3 separate regions of the Homo sapiens genome follow, and regions 2 and 3 are each linked to region 1. The links are contacts of gene promoters, found by promoter capture Hi-C in human tissues and cell types (Jung and others, 2019). All regions are on one chromosome and are shown on one strand. The core of a region is centred on a gene start or on the middle of the fragment in contact, and the rest is flanking DNA. Distances in the headings are between cores, read along the strand shown. Region 1 holds the start of SMIM3 (small integral membrane protein 3). Region 2 holds the start of LOC124901108 (a long non-coding RNA gene). Region 3 has its middle 22 kb from the start of GPX3.

The links. The method cuts DNA at HindIII sites, captures the fragments that hold promoters and counts their contacts. A contact is called where the count stands out against the background at its distance.
Region 2: a fragment that was not itself captured here is called in contact with the fragment with the promoter of SMIM3 in region 1 in 1 of the 25 tissues and cell types used here (aorta).
Region 3: a contact is called between a fragment that was not itself captured here and the fragment with the promoter of SMIM3 in region 1, in 1 of the 25 tissues and cell types used here (H1 embryonic stem cells).

The regions. Positions count from the first base shown.
Region 1 is chr5:150,775,573-150,780,465 of GRCh38, reverse strand. It overlaps SMIM3 (small integral membrane protein 3), which reads right to left and starts at 1,709. Exons shown (of 2, transcript NM_032947.5): 1 at 1,494-1,709. It overlaps LOC124901110, which reads left to right and starts at 65. Exons shown (of 2, transcript XM_047417995.1): 1 at 65-559; 2 at 915-4,893. The coding sequence starts at 1,345. The coding sequence ends at 1,986. RefSeq lists an enhancer at 326-1,187 and a silencer at 1,625-1,814. The HindIII fragment of the contact is 12,753 bases long and covers 84-4,893 here.
Region 2 is chr5:150,616,385-150,620,716 of GRCh38, reverse strand. LOC124901108 (a long non-coding RNA gene) reads left to right here and starts at 3,885. Exons shown (of 3, transcript XR_007058996.1): 1 at 3,885-4,332. It also overlaps a transcript of SYNPO not described here. The HindIII fragment of the contact is 4,717 bases long and covers 549-4,332 here.
Region 3 is chr5:150,996,429-151,000,647 of GRCh38, reverse strand. No RefSeq gene overlaps it. Among named protein-coding and RNA genes, the nearest start is that of GPX3, 22 kb to the left of the region's middle. RefSeq lists a silencer at 3,808-3,974. The HindIII fragment of the contact is 5,174 bases long and covers 253-4,219 here.

The sequences.
Region 1 (4,893 bases), core at 460-2,959:
ATGATTCACAGTCCCAGGACAGCTGGGAACAGGAGGTCCCGGCTGGAGCAGGAAAACACTTTTTAGTTTTTTTCAGTTGTCACTGCAGAAGCACATGATGTCCTAAAGCTCAGCTGTGCTGCTTTGCGTGTGTCTAGATGGCTGCTGTGCGGCCTGCATAAACCAAAGAGCATGTCATGCTCAACCACAGACAAACATCTGTTCCACTCCCATGTCTTCATTTTACAGATAGGGAAGACAAGGGCCAGAGAGGGGAAATGCCTCCATTAGGGTAATTCAGAGGGTCTCCTAACCCCCAGAGTACCTGTTCTTCCCGCTCCCACCTCCACCTAATTCAGGCATCCCCAATCCTTCCAAACTATGTGGCCACTGCAGTAGCAGCACGCATCATAGCAGATGTTCAAGGAATCTCTGATACTTGTGTGATTGCGCAGCCTTCACCACCACACCCTGGAGCTTTGAGGACCTTAGTATTCACCACAGATGAACCGGAGACTCCTCAGCCCCCAGGTGCAGCAGGATTCCAGCTGGTCCAGAAGAAACAAGTGCAGCTGCATAAGTAAGAGCCCAGCCTGGCCCTCAATCAGAATAACAGCCCCTGAGGTTTGTTTCAATTTGTGGGGGGGGCGGGGGGGGTTACACCTTTCATCCTTTCACTCAGTACATATGTATGGAGCACCTACTGTTAGCCAGGCCCTGCTCCAAGAGCTGAGAATGCCTCAGAGATGACGATAGACAGGCAGTCCCTACCCTCAAGAAACTGGCATGGGGGAGACTAGGGAGCAAAACAACCAGCAACTGGAACAACTACGTCCTCAGGAAAGGGACAGCTAACCAGCAGGAGGGAGCTTGAAGGAAGCCTTCTCTCCAAGATACTTTGCTCATGTCCTTTCTCCTTTGCTTTCTGCACGCAGAAAATGTTTTCCCAATTTCACTGATGGAAAAACAAGGATGGTGAAGCAGTTAGTGACAGAACCAGGGCTGGAACCCGCCACTCCTGACTCCAAACTCCTGGCGCCTTCTACACGGGGCCTCGAGAAAAGCGGGACAGGTAAGTGCAAAGACCCAAACCCAGCGCAGCGCCCAAGCAGGTGCTCAGGCCCGGGCGCTGAACCCTGACGCTGGGCCTGGAGAGCCAGGAGGTGGCAGTCTGCCCGAGGAGGAGGCTTCCCGAGAAGGCAAGGGCAGCGGACCCGGAGAGAAGCCAGTCTCCGAGTGGGGCTGGGGTTCGCCCACCCAAGCTCCGCCTCCCCCAGGCCCAAAATTCTGTGCACTAGGAGGCTCGAACTTAAGAGCTGACAGCAGGAGAAAAAGGAGGGGGTGAGGGCAAGAAATACAAAAGTGATGAAAAGGGAGAAATGGGGAGGAGAGACCGGACATAAAGAAGAACGTTGGGAGCCCGGGGAAAGGGGCCGCACTAGAGGTAGGTCGCGAATCCGAAGAGCTCCGCTCTGCCAGAGCCCCACAAACAATCCCCCGGTGGCCCCACTCACCCCAGATGGCGGCGAGTCTGCGGAAAGTTCCTGGGTCAGGGATGGCTCGGTGCTTCTCAGGGTCCCCAGGACTGCACGGGATCTGGCAGCTGGAAGCGACCCCCAGGCCTGGAACCTCAGCCCTAGGCAGCTCCTGGAACGTGCCCCGGCTCCTCCGAGCCCCGGGAGGCGGGAGAGCGCAGGAGCGGCCAGGACGCGCTGCTGGCTCTGGAATGCGCGGCTGCTGGGGACCGCCCCCGGAACGCCCGGTCCCGGGGCCCCGGCAACTCCAGCTCAGCTCCTCCTCCAGCGTCCCCTGCGGGCTGCGTTCGGGGAGAAAGGAACCTGCGAGAGAAGGGAGAGACCAGGGCGTCTCGGGCTCCCCTTCCACGTTGCCACACACTCGCCGCGTAGCCGTGGACATGTCGCTTGGCTTCTGAGGGTCTCCCCTCTCTGGATTGTAAACCGAGAGGGTTGGCCTAAAATGTGTCCTCCACGACCTTTCCAGCTATAGAGTAGACATGGGAAAGAAAGCCTAGCAAGTAGGTTTGGACAGAGGAGCCGGGACTCAGATCCTGCTTTGCGATGTCCGAAGTGTAGGGTCCTTCGGAGGCTTTGCCACTCTGTTTCATTCTCTGTAAAGTGGGAAAGGTAACACCTGTCTCCCAGTCCTGTTGTGAGGATTGGTTTAGAGGACCAGTGTGAAGCTGGTTGGTTCTCTGCCATAACATGACTTGGAGCATCCTGTTTATTTTGTGATAACAATGAAATAGCCCAATCCAAGGTGATCAAGAGCCCATTAGAATCCAGCATCTGAGAGGCTTCCCACGCCACTGTGGGTGGCCCAGCTTCCACGCAGGACAATGCCAATTCTGTAATCTTCTGCCCCCTCTATGTCATCCATGGAGTGAGGGGGGACTCCCGTCCCATGTTGGCACCCACACTTTTTAATTCACAGTGGTTTTCTTTAATCTTACTCTTCTGAAAAAAAGGAGCACAAGCCTTGACTATCAGTGAGACCTTGAGCAGTCTTGGAGCCCAGTAGTGTTTTGGAGGGTTTGGAAAGAGCCATACTGCCTTCCCCAGGCCTAAATTTGATATGGTGTGGGCCCCGAACTTAGAACTTACTCCATGCTGTTTCCTCTGATTCAGGGATGAGGTCAGCAGAAATGACCTCTAAATCATCATTATCACACGCCAGTTTCTTAAGGGAAGGACAGTGAGGATGAAGGGGATTCACATGAGAAATGATTTGAGAAAAACCCTAAGGGCTGTCACCCAACAACATGTTTTATTCAAAAGAGATAGTGTGGGAACCTAAAAACAAGGACAACCCAATTCTGAATAGTTTAATACAAAGCTCTCATTTAATAGTAAAAAAAGATTGAAGGAGGACAATCTTTTTTTTTTTTTTTTTTTTTTTTGAGACGGAGTCTCGCTCTGTCGCCCAGGCTGGAGTGCAGTGGCATGATCTCGGCTCACTGCAACAGGAGGACAATCTTAATATGACATTTTCCCTGGTTAGTGAAGGGGATGAGAGTTCCTTTGGGTGGACAACTGGTAACTCCATGTGCCCTGCTGTGAACATTGGCTTCCCTCTGGGACAAGGCAGAAGCTCAGGCCTGGAGCCAGCTGAGTCCTAGTCTCCCTTTCCATTTAGCAATTTATTAGTATCTCTTTAATATCGACTTGCCCTGGGACCCTAAAAGCAAGCCAGAAATAAAGTATGAATCCCCACAGGAGCATACCATGTTAAGTCTGCTGCCTAGGCTAGACTGATTTTGCAAAGAGAGCACTGAAGGGAAGAATAATGGATGCTGTGTTGGGATGCAGGAGTGGGGGAAATAGTCAATTTCAGCAACAAGCTTTTGTTACAGCAAAAGCCAGAAAACAGCTCACAACTTCCTTGGTCCTCTATTACAACCACTCCAAAGAGAAAACCATCAGGACCTGAAAGAAATAAGTAATACTCTCTTAGAGAGCCCCTGATACTTTGGGGAACTTGTACAGAAGAAGTTGTAGTCTAATGACATTGGCTGCCATCAAAAGACGGCCTTGGCCAGGGGCAGTGGCTCATGCCTGTAATCCCAGTACTTTGGGAGGCCGAGGCGGGCAGATCACCTGAGGTCAGGAGTTCGAAACCAGCCTGGCCAACATGGTGAAACCCTGTATCTACTAAAAACACAAAAATTAGCCAGGCGTGGTGGCGGGCGCCTGTAATCCCAGCTACTGGAGAGGCTGAGGCAGGAGAATCACTTGAATCCCAGAAGCGGAGGCTGCAGTGAGCCGAATTGCCCCACTGCACTCCAGCCTGGGCAATAGAGTGGGACTCTGTCTCCAAAAAACAAACAAACAAACAAACAAACAAACCACTGCCTAAAGAGGCCCCCATTAGGATGCAATCCATAGCAAATACCCTCTTTAAGAATCATATCTACACGAGACATTTTCTTTTCATTTTTCACTTGTACAAATATATTTATTTACTTTTGGGGAATAATATGACATATTGTATTAGAAATCAGAAAACCAGTATTTCGAGTCTGTCACCCAGTAGCCCACCCAAGCTCCATAAAATAGTAAAATGAGACCTATTCCTCACATCTGGTACAATTATGATGAGTAAATATTTTATTCATATACAGCAGACCCCTGAATAACATCCTTCTGTTATAACGTTGATGAGGAAAAAAAATTGTTTCCCTGCTGGGATCACCGTCTGTGTGGCATTTGCATGTCCTCCCCATGTCTTCCTGGGTTTTCTCCAGGTACCCCGGTCAGTTTCCTCCCACATCCCGAAGATATGCATGTTAGGCAAACTGCTGTGTCTATGTAGTCCCAGTGTGAACGATTGTGGGTGTGGGTGAGTCTGCTCTGCGATGTGATGGCGTCCTGTCCAGGGCTGGTTACTGCCTCGAGCCCTGAGCTGCCGGGACAGGCTCTGGCCACTGAACTCTAAACTGGAATAAGCAGGTAAATAATTCTCTTCCTTGTTTTTACTAATCTTTCTTAAATGTATGTATGGTTCACAATTATTTCAGTGTTCAATATTGGAAGTGTTTTAGTCTTTATTTAGAAGTTTGGTGGTACTTTTGTTATCAGAAATATGCTGTAGGAACTTAACTCTTCTTTCTGTCCATTTGTCTATGGTAAAATTGGTTTCCTTATACATAGTTTCACTCAAAATCAAAGTGTCCAAAACCTGTTGAGGAGGCTGAGTGAGGACTTACTGTATTCCTTCATTCAAAGCTATTTATTGAATATCTCCTACATGTTCTAGGCACTAAGGAAGACAAATTATCTTTATTTATTGTGCTTACATCTACTGGGAAAATATTCACAAAAAATAAGTAAGCAAATAAATAAGCAAGATGATACCGGTTTGCGAAACCATGAAGAACATAAAGCAAGATGATGAGAG
Region 2 (4,332 bases), core at 1,658-4,157, 160 kb after region 1:
AAGAGTGAGATGCTATCAAATGAACTGGCTTGGTGTGACTTGCCAACAGAGTTCATTAAAGGTAGTGCCTTCTTCTGTCCTCTCCATCCATGGGCTCTTCCATTCCAAGATGTCCGCAGACAACACTTTACTCCTATAATTCCAGAAGACAGTGGTGGCCAAGAGCACAAGCCTCGTGTTCAAAAAACCATGACTGGATCATGGCTTAGCAGCTTGCTAGTCATGCATCTTGGATAAGTCACATATATTTCCTGAGCCTCTATATTCTCATCTGTATAATGAAAATAATAAAAGTATGTCCCTCATGGGGATTGCTACGAGGTTAAATGAAATGAAAAGGGTAAAGCTCTTGGCACAGGGCTTAGCACATAAAGGCTTCTAACAAATAATAGCAGTCCTATTGTTGAGCTGATGATGGTCATTTCAATTAGGTATAAACGTTTCTTACATACCTATCTAGATTACTCTAAAATTTCCAAAACACTGCCACAACTAAGATCATTGCAACCTCCTAACAGCTCTTTGAGGTAGATAAGACTCATATTTTTATTTTATTTTCACAGAGGAGGAAAGTAGAGCTCACCAAGGGGAAGGGATTTGCTAGGGCTTGGCTAGTCGGCAACATCCAGTCTAGAAAGCATCTATGTCTCCTGACCCCAGCCTGGGCCCGTGAGAGGGATGGGAGCAGGTCCTGGGAACTTCAGACTGTAGGAGACTGAATTTGGGCGGACTCTGGTGTGAGGGCCCACCTCCAAGTTCAAGACTGCAGTGCCTCCCTGGGGTCCTCCTTCTTCCTGCCCTAGAGGGATTAAAGGTCCTTTCTTGCTCCTGCCCAGCCCCCTGTGTGACCCCAGCCTGGTAGACAATGGTGGCCATGGGGGGTGATCAGAGCCTGGAGAGAATTATTTCAGAGAGAAGAGTGGGCGGGAAGGCTGGTGAGATGCCAGCCGGGCGTCAACGACGCCTGCAGAGAAATGAAGTGTTCCTTCAGTTTCCTGACGCACAAGCCCTCCCGGGACTGTGTCCCCCGCATGCCCTGCACCCCCGGGATCTACTGGCTGCGGCTCCTGCTTGAGCTGAGCATGGCCCTGCTCACGTCCTCCCCATCTGGACCCACTTCAGCGTTTCCATGGGCTGGCTGTGGAGGTGATTCAGCGTGGGCTTCCCTGTCCCGCCCTGCTCTGCAGACAGCAGCCGCTGCAGGAAAATTATCATCATTCCTGCCCTTCCTTCCTTCCGTGCCGCGCACACTGTGCTCTCCCCACACGCTGTCATGGGATCTCACTGCAGCCTAGGTGGTGTTCTATCTGCCCTTGTCACCTCTAACAAATGAAAAACCAAGGCCTAGGCGAGGAACGTGGGCCTAGCTCAGCCACTACTAACACGCTGAGTGACCTCTAGCTGTCTTTTTCCTCACTCTGAGTCTCAGTTTCCCCACCTGTAAAATTGGGGGGTCAAATTCTATCAAAGGCTTCAGTCTCTACCTCCCAAGCTCCATGAGGTCAGCAACCACATCCGTTTGGTCCAGTGCCGCGTCCCCAGCACCCCCACGTAGCCAGCACTCAATCCATTTAATGAGAGGGTTCTGCCCCATCGGTTGCTTGGGACACCGCAGTGATTTGTTGCCGCTAATGATTAAAAGGCAGACGAGAGTGGGAAATGGGCATTTTTTTTTTTTTTAGCCAAGCAAGATAATGTGGCTTTCTCTCACTGCCTTCTCACGTGCCCTCTTTGGCAGAGAAAGGAGTGGGGTTAGATGTGGTGCAGCTGGAACTGCACGTAGCTCGCTGTCGCTCCTATCTCTCCACAGCTGTTAATCTGGGCATGCCCATGGGACTGTGATGAATTACTGTGGATCATGGAAAAATATGGTCAGGAGCCCTTGTACTAAGGACCTGGGGGGTCTCCAGTGACTCTGGTAGTCCAAGGGAAAAGGAACACAAGCTTACCTGGTTTCTGGGCCACTCTGGGCCCAGGGCCAGGGCTGGGGCTGGCTGTCATCATCTGCCCGGCCTTCACTACATCCCAGTCCTGGCTGGCCCTGTCGTCGTGCTGGGACGCCCCTTGTTCCTCTCTGGAGCAGCTGGGTGGTTGGATGCCCAGGGCTTTGGGCAGCTGCGGTGTCCCCTGGGTGACTCTGCAGGCAGAGTCGTCCCCACTCCTGCTGACCCCCTCATCCTCTTCCAGGTCGGTAGGCCCCACCTCTCCCTGCAGGCCCTCCTCACCGCTGCTCTCCTCGGCTTCCAGAGCCAGACACCTGTAGCTTCCATCAGGGATCTGGAAGGCGCAGGGGGTAGGCCTCCCTTCGCTGGGTGCAAGGGGCGGAGGTGGGAGGTGAGGACCCAGCATGGTGCTGTTCTTCCTCAGCGATGCAGGGAAGCAGGCTCCTGGGCCTGGGCCAGGGCCTGGGCTGGGGCCAGCTGTGTGAGCCCTGGTCTCTGCTCCTTACACAGCCTCCTCTGACTCTCTGCACTTTTGCCTTCCTCCGCTGATTCACAGAATTGGGGTGAGGTCTGGCTGAGACGAAAGATAAGTCCTTCCTGGGCTAGTGGAGTGGTGGACCTCCAATCCCTCTTCTTAACCCGTCTCTGGTGTGAGGCCGCTTTGGGGCAATCTATCGGCATAGGGAAGAAAGAAACAGCACATGAGAAAGCTCGCTTGGGGTTCCAGGCTGAATTTCTGAAGCCTGTTCCTCTTCAGGTGACCCTGAGAACTGGTCGGCATTTGGGGTGCAGGTTCCACACTTCCATAGGGAAGTGTTTCGAAAGCTCCAGTCATTTAACATCCTGGATTTTCACCACATCCTCATGCTACCTGAAACTTTATCTAATATTTTTCCATTAATCAACTTGAAATCACTTACTTCTATTACTTTAGAATTATCTTAAGCAATATTTGCAGAGAAACCACAAGTATATTGTGCTCAGTCCTTTTCCCCCAATGCACATTAAATAAATATCTAGTTATTTAACAACACGTATCTAGACACCACCTAGAAAGAATTCACTCATATCCCAGCAAAGGTACCTACACCACAGGAATCACAGGAGTGGTGTGACCTAAGATGCAAACTGGGGATAGGAGCCCTTGGAGGAGATTGTGCAACAAGAAACACTGTGCAGTCCGGGGGTGGTGGCTCATGCCTGTAATCCTAGCACTTTGGCAGGCCGAGGCGGGTGGATCACCTGAGGTCAAGAGTTCAAGACCAGCCTGGCCAACATGGTGAAACGCTGTCTCTACTAAAAATACAAAAATTAGCTGGGCGTAGTGGTAGGCACCTGTAATCCCAGCTACTTGGGAGGCTGAGGCAGGAGAATCGCTTGAATCCAGGAGGTGGAGGTTGCAGTGAACCGAGATCGCCCCATTGCACTCCAGCCTGGGCAACAGAGCAGAAACTCAGCCAAAAAAAACAAAAGAAGATGGTGCAGTGGTGTGCTTTCAGTTTCTGTGCCCAGGCTTGCAGTTAGAATCCTAGCTCTGCCATTTGTGTGACGATCAACAAGCCAGCCACAGGACCTCTCTAAACCTCCACTTCCCCGTCTGTAAAATGGGTATTGTAATATTTCTAACTTCGCATTGCATTGAGGATTACATGAAAAAATGCACGCAGAGGACTCAGCACAGTTTCTAAGCCATACCTTAATACATGTTGGCTGTTCTTTCATTCCACAAAAATTTCTTAGGATCCTATTATTTTTCAGACATCATAAAAAGTACTGGGGATATAGCAGAGGGATAAAGAAGCCTTAAAATGTGGTGAGGAGAGCTGTGAATGATAGCAGGAACAACAATAATCATTGTATGATTATTTATATAAATGTTAAGAATGATGATAATCCAAGCAAGAGGGAATGGAGGCTTTCTGTAAGGGGTGGTGAGGAGGGGGTAGATGGGAGAGATACTTGGGTGGAAGAACTGGCTGGGCTTGGAGGCAGATGGAGAGTGGGTGTGGAGAAGAGGGAGGAGCCTAGGATGCAGCCCAGGTTCCTAGCTCTGGTGACAGAGATTTTGTTAATAGAGATCAGGAATAAATGAGAAGGAGCAGCTGTTTAGTGGAGCAGGGAGATGAGTTAGGTTTTGGATTTCCAGGGGAGATGAGCAGTGGGCGGTTCCACATAGGGGTCTAGAGAACAGGGGAGAATTCCAGGCTGGGGACAAATATCTAGAAATCATTTGTGGAGGCAAAGGGTGGAGATGGGTGAGATGCCCAGGATGGGCAGGTAGTGCGTAAGACAGAGCAGATGGCCAATTACACTTGGGAGGAAACCCTAGAATCAAGGGATCTTGCTTAAAGACTGGATTCCGCTGCTACTTAGCTGTGTGAACTCAGGC
Region 3 (4,219 bases), core at 1,590-4,089, 220 kb before region 1:
CAACATGAATAAACCTTGAAAACATTATGCTAATGAAATAAGCCAGTCACAAAAGGACAAATACTGCATGATTCCTCTTATATGAGGTACTGAGAATAGTCAAATTTATAGAGACAGAAAGTAGGATAGTTACCAGGGGTTGAGGGAGGGAGTAGTGGAGAGTTACTGGAGTGTAGGAAAATAAATCTGTATTAATCAGGGTTCTCCAGAGAAACAGAATTAATAGGATATATAAAAAAATTTCCTATAATGAATTGGTTCATGTGATTTGGAAGCTGAGAAGTCCCGGGAGAGCAATCTGAGTCTGAAGAACTAGGAGAGTCAATGATATCAATTCCAGTCATAGTCTGAGTCCGAGGGTAGGAGAAGACAAATGTTCCAGCTAGAAGAGTGTCAGGCAGAGAGAAGGATGAGGGCCACCCACACTGGGGAGGGCAGTCTGCCTTACTTAGTCCACTGATTCAAATTCAAATATTAGTCTCGTCCAGAAAATCCTCACAGATGCACCTAGAAATCGTGTTTAACCAAATATTTGGGCATGCTGTGACCCAGTCAAGTTGACGCATAAAACACAAAAGGCTTCTCAGTTTCTGTCTTAAAGCTAGCCAAATGCTGATGCCAAGGTCTACAATGCATGCAAAAACACAAGGAAAAGCAAACGCTAGAGTTAGTGGCACAACACATTCATGTTTTCAGTCTTCATCCCTTGGAGCCTGACCTGTTGGAGTTGGCTCCTTGCCTGGATTGAGGCTGCAGCTTGTACTAGCTGTGCTTCTGGGCAGTGGTTATACCCTGGAGCATTGCATCCAGGCTTCGAAGCTGAGGCAGTGTCCTGGTCCTGGGGTTTAGACTGAATCCATTGCCTGTCCCTCTTCTGAGTCTTCAGAATCCTCCAGAGTGGAAGAAGGACTGCAGTGGGTAACATCAAGCACATTTCTTGCTTGTGTCTTGCCTCCTTGCTGTGCCTTGTTCTGTAAGCAGACCCTGTGGGAGTAGGGAGCACAGGGGAACAGGTGAGCAGATGGCCAGCTGACCATTTGGTGTCAAATTCTCCCTCTTCATACACCACAACCTGACACAGCTTTTCTGCCTAGAATATCTGTTAACAACCTCCTCCAGTCCAAGAGGCTTTGAACCTTAGGGGTGGCAAAGTGTCCTCACCATACCCTAGCCCTGAGACCCTATGACTTTAAAGCTTATTAACTGCCTCCATTCCTACATCATCAGCAGAGGCTCAGGGCCCAGCTATTTCTGTGGACAGGTATTCACAATCCTAAAATTCTGACTGATATTGTTATCTTCAGGCTCGGACTTCATTCTTTTCTACCTATTTGAAGCACATACAGACCCTATTGGGACATCAGTATAAGCAATAAAAATCTCTCATTTTCAGACAGTTATCCTGAACCTCCCTCAATGTGTCGATCTCTTCTACTAATCCCCCCAAAGGCACCCAAGCCCCTGGGTGTTGGATCTAAAAATCACCACCACAGGATGTCTCTCTTCCTTGTTCCCAAGACTTCCAAGTGCATCCCCATATCCGAGGACTTCACTACCAATTTTTTCACCCACTACATTATCCCACAGGAGTCCAGGGCCCTATCTGGATTCTAGAAGAGGCTATTTCCTTGTTGATCTAGGAAGGTTTTTTGCTTTCTCTTCAATCCAGTGCTCCACTTCTCTCTCCTTCTCATTCGAGCCTAATACTCATCAACAGATACTGTTTGGTCTGGAAGATTATCTGGTCTTACACGCAAATCTGGAAGGAAGGAATACTGGCATTTGAGGCCTCAGCTCTCTCTCCATCCCTCCACAGCTAGCCTAATGGCAGAGTCCCTTGGATACCAGTGAGGCAGGAGAATAGGAAACCTAAGGCCATTTCACGCTGACTTCGTAGAACTACATTGAAAGGAAAACCCTAACTTTCCATGCCTAAGTAACAAAAGGACCAGAGGCTACTCTCTTTGCAAACTCCCACCTTTTCTGCATGGCAGATGGTTAATTGAAAGTACCTCTGGGCCAGGCGCAGTGGCTCACGCCTGTAATCCCAGCACTTTGGGAGGCTGAGGAGGGTGGATCACGAGGTCAAGAGATCGAGACCATCCTGGCCAACATGGTGAAACCCTGTCTCTACTAAAAATACAAAAAAATAGCCGGGCGTGGTGGCGGGCACCTGTACTCCCAGCTACTCGGGAGGCTGAGGCAGGAGAATGGCGTGAACCCGGGACGTGGAGCTTGCAGTGAGCCGAGATCGGGCCACTGCACGCCAGCCTGGGTGACAGAGAAAGACTCCGTCTCAAAAAGAAAAAAAAAGAAAAAGAAAAAGAAAATACCTCTGATTGGTTGCTTTTGGCAACCAGGCGTTTGCCTAAGAGTGTAACTTTGTAACTTCACTTCAGCCTCTGATTGGTTTCCGTCTGCAAACAATCAGACTGATTGGGGGCCACCACTTTATTTACATGGCGTGAACACCAAGTGGCCAATGGGAAACCTCCAGCGGGTATTTGGACCCAAGAAGATCCTGTATCCCGGCCCTTGAGTGGCTGCTTGGGCCTGCTCCCACTGTGGAGTGTACTCAATAAATCTCTGCTTTTGTTACTTCATTCTTTCCTTGCTTTGTTTGTGCATTTTGTCCAATTCTTTGTTCAAAATGCCAAGCACCTGGACACCCTCCACTGGTAACATATTTTGGTGAGCCAGCCAGGAGAAGGTAAGCCCAAAGTTTGGGATTTATTTTTCTCCTTTCCCTTTTTACATACAGGGAAATCTCTCTCTCTCTTTTCCTTTCCCACTCGGGACCCTTGGTGAGCAGCGTGTAAACATGGAGGTAAACTGCAGGTTTCTGGCCATGGCTGGTGAATACTAAGGGGTTTTCATGTGAAGAAGCCTAACCGCCACCACCTGGTTTGCCTAAGGGACCTGGGTCTTTTTCTTTTTTTTTTTCCTTTTCTTCTTTATTGGTCTTTTAGCAGCTGTTTCCTAGTAGCTCTTTGGAAATTGAGGGAAATTGGCTGGGATCAATCCCCAATATTGCCTGAAGACCATGGAGTGAATGGGGATAATTGCCCTGCCCAGAAGGGAGAAGGACTCTTTTTTAAATCTTTTCTGGGTGTGGTCCCTGATCCCTATGTGTGGCACAGCTCAGAGCAAACTCGCCTGTTTCAGGCAACTTAAACCTTTTCTTATGCGTAATTCTTCCGTTTCCCTAGTCAACTGGCTAAGAGCAAAAGAAACACATCCAGCCTCCAGTTATTAAGTTCATGGAATGGGAAACATGGGAAAGTGTGGCCTTATCAAATTATAAGGATGCTAAAAGTCAAGGCCTTCATCCAGGGACAAAATGAAAGCTCATAGTAGGCCATTCCCTTTAGAGGGAAAACATGCAAGCAGGACTGGTGCCCACCTAAGGTCAGAGACGTCTGACACTCTTAAGATTGGGCCCCACTAGGGGAAGCCCCAGAGGGGAATCCTCCGGACCTCAACCTCTCCAAAGAGGATGCCCTTGGCAGAGGTTCTGAGGTCTAGTATTAAACTCTCCTTAGAATTTTATCTCGCAGTTGCAATGCTATTTGGCCCCAATATTGTTTGGAATGCGGAGTTTACTGTTGAATGGAAAACTGGGATGGCATTGCCATTGCATATATCCAGGCTTTGGTGCTGCTATTCTAAGCAGAGGGCCTGGTGAAAGAGTGATGTTCTCCTTTGGTACTGTTTGGTCTTAGTGTTCTTTGGAGTCTGGGGAGGTTTCACCTTTAAAAATCAAACTGCTAGGGCCAGGTGCAGTGGCTCATGCCTGTAATCCCAGCACTTTGGGAGGCCGAGGCAGGTGGATCACTAGGTCAGGAAATCAAGACCATCCTGGCCAACGTGGTGAAACCCCATCTCTACTAAACTCCATCTCTACTAAAAATACAAAAAATTAGCCAGGCGTGGTGGTGCGTGCCTATAGTCCCAGCTACTCAGGAGGCTGAGTCAGGAGAATCACTTAGACCCGGGAGGCGGAGACTGCAGTGGGAGCTGAGATCACGCCACTGCACTCCAGCCTGGGCAACAGAGTGAGACTCTGTCTCAAAAACAAAAACAAAAAAAATCAAACTGCCATCTGGGCACGGTGGCTCACGCCTGTAATCCCTGCACTTTGGGAGGCCGAGGCGGGCAGATCACGAGGTCAGGAGTTCAAGACATGAACAAGGCCAACAAGGTGAAACCCCATCTCTAC